Linked DNA regions of Homo sapiens: region 1 is linked to region 2. Evidence: promoter capture Hi-C in 16 types of primary human blood cells and fetal thymus (Javierre and others, 2016). All regions are on one chromosome and are shown on one strand. The core of a region is centred on a gene start or on the middle of the fragment in contact, and the rest is flanking DNA. Distances in the headings are between cores, read along the strand shown.

Region 1 (2,700 bases), core at 129-2,628, 51 kb after region 2:
GAAGCATTTGAATATATAAATGTATAAGGAAGAAATATTTCTGGTATCTTAGATAAATGTCATATTTGACAGTTCTTTCATACATCTCTTTATGTGTGTCTATTTTGTATATATGCACACACACACACACACACTCATCTTTATATTGTCTTTTTTTTTTTTTTTTTGAGAAGGAGTCTTGTTGTATCGCCCAGATTGGAGTGCAGTGCCGCGATCTTGGCTCACTGCAACCTCTGCTTCCCAGATTCAAGCGATTCTCCTGCCTCAGCCTCCCGAGTAGCTGGGACTACAGGCACCCGCCACCATGCCCAGCTAATTTTTGTATTTTGAGTAGAGATGGGGTTTCACCATGTTGGCCCAGCTGCACTCGAACTCCTGACCTTGTGATCTGACCGCCTCAGCCTCCCAAAGTGCTGGGATTACAGGTGTAAGCCACCATGCCCTGTCTTTTTTATTTTTTTTTTTGAGACAGGGTCTTGCTCTGTTACCCAGGCTAGAGTGCAGTGGTGTGATCTTGGCTTATTGCAACCTTGAACTCCTGAGCTCTAGCAGTCCTCCCACCTCAGCCTCCTGAATAGCTGGGACTACAGGTGTGAGCCATCATACCTTTTAATAATTTCAAAATTAAAGTAAGATACATGAAATTACAATAAAACATAACAGCATAACAAATTACTATAAAGTACACATCCATGTAACTAATACCCAGGTCAGTAAGTAGGACAGTACCAGAATATCAGAAGCCCTTTTTAACCTAACCTTGGTTTTGTTTCATCCACTAATATAAATGAGAAATTTCATATGTTTGATTATTATTATTATTATTTTTTGAGACGGAGTCTCGCTCTGTTGCCCAGGCTGGAGTGCAGTGTCACGATCTTGGCTCACTGCAAGCTCCACCTCCCGGGTTCACGCCATTCTCCTGCCTCAGCCTCCCAAATAGCTGGGACTACAGGTGCCCGCCACCACAGCCAGCTAATTTTTTGTATTTTTAGTAGAGACGGGGTTTCATCGTGTTAGCCAGGATGGTCTCGATCTCCTGACCTCGTGATCCGCCCGCCTCAGCCTCCCAAAGTGCTGGGATTACAGGCGTGAGCCACTGCGCCCGGTCTGTTTGATTATTTTTTTAATAAATAATTGGACTTTCTATCTAAAGCTTCCAGAATAGTTTTTTCTTCATTGTAGCACAGAAATTTTATAATTATGTGTCTAGCATGTATCTTTTCTAGTCAGTCCTGCTTAGAAACTGGTGAGCCATTTTAATGTGCAAACTCAGGTCTTTCATTAGGGTAGTTTTCTTCTAATATTTGTTAATCAGCGCCTCATGTATATATGTTCTCTTCTGGAATTTCTTTTATTTAACTGTTAGGTATCCTGGGTTTATCTTCTAATTCTCTTAGCTTTTTCTTCAGATTTACATTTCTTTATATTTTTATCTTTGCTTTAAGATATTTCTTCCACTTGTCCAGGCCAGTAATTCTAGTTTCAACTCTAATAATTTACTCTTTCAATTCATTTTACTGACATTTTTTATTTAAAATAATATTTATTATTTCTAAAATGTCTTTGTGTGTGTATTTATGTTGTAGTTAAAGCTTAAGTACTCGTTTTTTTTGTTGTTGTTCAGATTATCATCTGTGTCTTCCAGCAGCTCTGTTTTGTTAGGGTCTACCTTTTTTATTTATTTATTTATTTTTTTTTGAGACAGGGTTTTGCTCTGTCACCCAGGCTGGAGTGCAGTGGCACGATTTTGGCTCACTGCAACCTCTGCCCCCTGAGCTTCAGTGATCCTCCCACCTCAGCTTCCTGAGTAGCTGGGACTACAGGCACACATCAGCACCACCATGCCCGGCTAATGTTTGTATTTTTAGTAGAGATGAGGTTTGAACTCAAGCGATCCACCTGCTTGTGGCCTCCCAAATGCTGAGATTACAGGCGTGAGCCACTGCGCCCAGCCGAGAGGGAGAAGAACTTGTACCAACTCTAGATTCTGACAGAGCTTAAGCCTTCACTCACACCCTATGGACCCCTCCTATCTGTTCATCTAGAAGTGCGTTAGAGTTCAGAATGGAGATGAGTGGGGTCACTTTCAAGCTACCATCTGCCCACGATATGGATCTATATTCTCAGCCTGTTTATAATGTAGGCTGGTTCACTTGGAAGGACCCAAAATGGCTTAGCAGCTTTTCTTTCCCTACTATTGGGTCTCTATATGAGCAACAAAGATTAGCCAAGTTCTTACCTAAGCAGAGGTAGTAAGAATTCTTTTCTTTTTTGAGTGCACTATCTTGCACCTGTAATTGTATGTCGGGAACTGAATTGACTGCCTTAGACAACTACTTTTGTTTCCTTTGGCAGGAAGGCAGCAACAACTCATCTCCAGTGGATTTTGTAAATAACAAGAGGACAGACTTATCTTCAGAACATTTCAGTCATTCCTCAAAGTGGCTAGAAACTTGTCAGCATGAATCAGATGAGCAGCCTCTAGATCCAATTCCCCAAATTAGCTCTACTCCTAAAACGTCTGAGGAAGCAGTAGACCCACTGGGCAATTATATGGTTAAAACCATCGTCCTTGTACCATCTCCACTGGGGCAGCAACAAGACATGATATTTGAGGCCCGTTTAGATACCATGGCAGAGACAAACAGCATATCTTTAAATGGACCTTTGAGAACAGACGATCTGGTGAGAGAGGAG
Region 2 (2,700 bases), core at 40-2,539:
ACCTTGAAACAGCAGCGCTGGAGCTCTTGGGGAGATGTGAAATCACTGAAGAGAGGAATAGATAAGGGAGGAAACAATCAGAGGAGTGAAAGCAACTTCGGGCAACACACAGGTGAAAGATGAAATGGTGTTTTATCTGAGGGAGCCAAAAAGAGAGGCTCTGAGTAAAATCTTGAAGGATATATATGGAGATTAGGACGTGGGAGCGAAGGGGTATGAAAAGAGACATGACCTCCTCCATAATACTTATTTTGAAACCGTCAGGATTTCCTTAGCTTGTGCTGTATCAGTAGATCATCATTCAGATACTGATCCTTAGCACAGTAACGCTGAGGGACCTTTGTCCTGTTCTCTCATTTTACAGAGAAGGAAGCAGGCAAAACTATGTATTGTCTATTTTATGTAATTATGTTTGCTTCCCAGATAAACTACACAGAAGGAAGCAGGCAAAACTGACTATGTATTGTCTACTTTATGTAATTATGTTTGCTTCCCAGATAAACTATTTTTTGCTAAAGGGCAAGAACAATATTCACTACTTCTGCAGTATCTCCTCCTCTCCTCCATCAGGGCCCAGTTCGTGCCATAAGTAGATGGACCAGAACAGTGTTCAAACAGTAAATGAAGTAAAAACTCATTGGCCAGGAACCGTGACACGCGTCTTTAGTCCAAGCTACTCAGGAGGCTGAGGCAGGAGGATCCCTTGAGCCTGCAGGAGTTCGAGACCAGACTGGGCAACGTAGCGAGTCCTTGTCTCAAAGAAAAAAAAAACAAAACCTCATTAGTTTCCTCTGTGGATGGAATGAGGCGAGATTTTTGAGGCCTTTTAATTACCTCCTAGTTTCTGCCTCAGTAATTTTCAAACAGGATCTTGAATAAGATGGGAGTGCTACCACGTCTGACCAGGGGTGTAACTTCCGCAGAACCCTGAGTCCAGGCCTAAGTGGCTAGGCGGACTCCAACTCCCCTCAAAGTGAGCTCCCCGGACCGAAATGAGTCAGCCAGGTCCACCGCCAGCCCAGGTAGTGGGCCCGGACTCCGACCCCCGCGGGTCCCCGAGCCCCGCGGTTCCGGGCACCGTGGTGTGCGCCCGGGGCGTGTTTCAGCTCTTGGTCCGCTCCCCCTCGCCCTCCTCCCGGAACCACGCCCGCTCCTCGCGCACGCAGCCCGTCGGCCCTGCAGCGTCGTAGGACAGGGCGGGACTGGGGTGGGAGGCCGTTGGTTGGCTGGCGGGCTGCGGAAGGCGGGGCTCGTGTGCGCACCAGCGCGTCCTCGCTCAGCGTTGCTCCTGCGCGCGCAGCTGGTCGGCCCGCGGCGGTGCTGCGCGGATCCGGCGTCGGGGCCCGGCATGGCGGGGGCCGGGGCCAAGCCGGGCCGGACCCGGACCTAAATGCCTCTGTTCTTCTCCGCGCTGTTGGTCTTGCTGCTAGTTGCGCTTAGCGCCCTCTTTCTAGGCCGGTGAGGGTTCCCGGCCGCGCCGGCGGCGGCGGCGGCGGCGGGAGGGAGGGGGCGGAGAGGAGGAAGAAAGACTGAGGAGGGGGCGCGCGCCTTACTGAGGCGCGTGAGGCAGAGTGGGTAGGGTGGAGGGAGGGGGCGCGCGGCGAGGGGAGGGATCGTGAGGAGGCGCGTGGCCCGAGCTCCCAGGGATGGGCTGCGAGTTGGGGAGACTGAGGAAGCGGGCGGGGTCTGAGGAAATGCTGAGGCCAGGAACTGAATAGGAGTGTGAGGAAGGGGCCTGGTTCAGTGGCTTCCCTTTCCCCCTCCACCCACCCCTGCATGTCCCTTTCGCCAAGCGCGATGGGCACCTGCAGCATCGGTCTGGGGAGAACAGCATTCGAGCTGCCGGGTCTGACCTCAAAGTGCCTTCTCGTGGATACCTGTCTGGAGGGTGGGAGCAGGAGACAGACAGACCCTCTGGGGAGTGTGATGGCACATGTGACAGAGCCGCCTCCGCTTTGACTCTTGCTGGGGTCTTCTCTCTCTGCCTCTGGGATTCATAACAATTTGAGGGATTTTGTTTTTGTCTTCAACTTAGAGGGTGCAGTTTCTGGTTTCATCTGGGTGGAGGGGTCAGTCGGGAGCTAGGATCTTGATCAGCGTGGCTGAATGTATATGACAGAGTGGTGCTTTGGAAGAAAGGAGAGTTGCTCAGATCCAGTTTCAGGAACGACCTTTTGCAAGGCTTTGAAAGACCAGCAAGGGGTGAGGGAAACCATCATTGGAAAAAGGTCCTATGAATTAACAGGAATTTTTCTGCAGGTGGCTTGTGGTCCGGTTGGCCACCAAGTGGTGTCAGCGGAAGCTGCAGGCGGAGCTAAAGATTGGCTCCTTCCGCTTTTTTTGGATCCAGAATGTCAGTCTTAAGTTTCAGCAACACCAGCAAACAGTGGTGAGTTCTGGGAAACTCTGGATATGTGTGTAGGGTTGATCCAATTGAATTTAAACTCTTAATTTCCTTTTTTTAAAAATAGAAATCCTGGTGGCTTTTCTAGTTAATCCCAGCCTTGCCATTTCTTTGCCAAGATGATCTTAGAGCTAGTTGGAGAACGCTGCAAGTTGTTCAGTTAAAAATGTTTGTAGGACACAGAGTGTCCAGGGCACATAACAAAGATACAGAAGAAAGATAACAGGAAATCGAAGATTTTACTGTTCTAATTTAAGATGGGATTCAAGGCAACATGGCTATGAAAGAGAAATTCT

The links. The method cuts DNA at HindIII sites, captures the fragments that hold promoters and counts their contacts. A CHiCAGO score of 5 or more calls a contact.
Region 1: a contact is called between a fragment that was not itself captured here and the fragment with the promoter of BLTP2 in region 2, in 1 of 17 cell types (M1 macrophages). The highest score is 5.6, in M1 macrophages.

What each region holds. Positions count from the first base shown.
Region 1 is chr17:28,592,725-28,595,424 of GRCh38, reverse strand. It overlaps SPAG5 (sperm associated antigen 5), which reads left to right. Exons shown (of 24, transcript NM_006461.4): 3 at 2,359-2,700. Among named protein-coding and RNA genes, the nearest start is that of SPAG5, 5.0 kb to the left of the region's middle. The HindIII fragment of the contact is 439 bases long and covers 1,159-1,597 here.
Region 2 is chr17:28,643,747-28,646,446 of GRCh38, reverse strand. BLTP2 (bridge-like lipid transfer protein family member 2) reads left to right here and starts at 1,289. Exons shown (of 39, transcript NM_014680.5): 1 at 1,289-1,458; 2 at 2,260-2,389. The coding sequence starts at 1,391. RefSeq lists silencers at 903-1,132, 1,153-1,492. The HindIII fragment of the contact is 8,883 bases long and covers 1-2,700 here.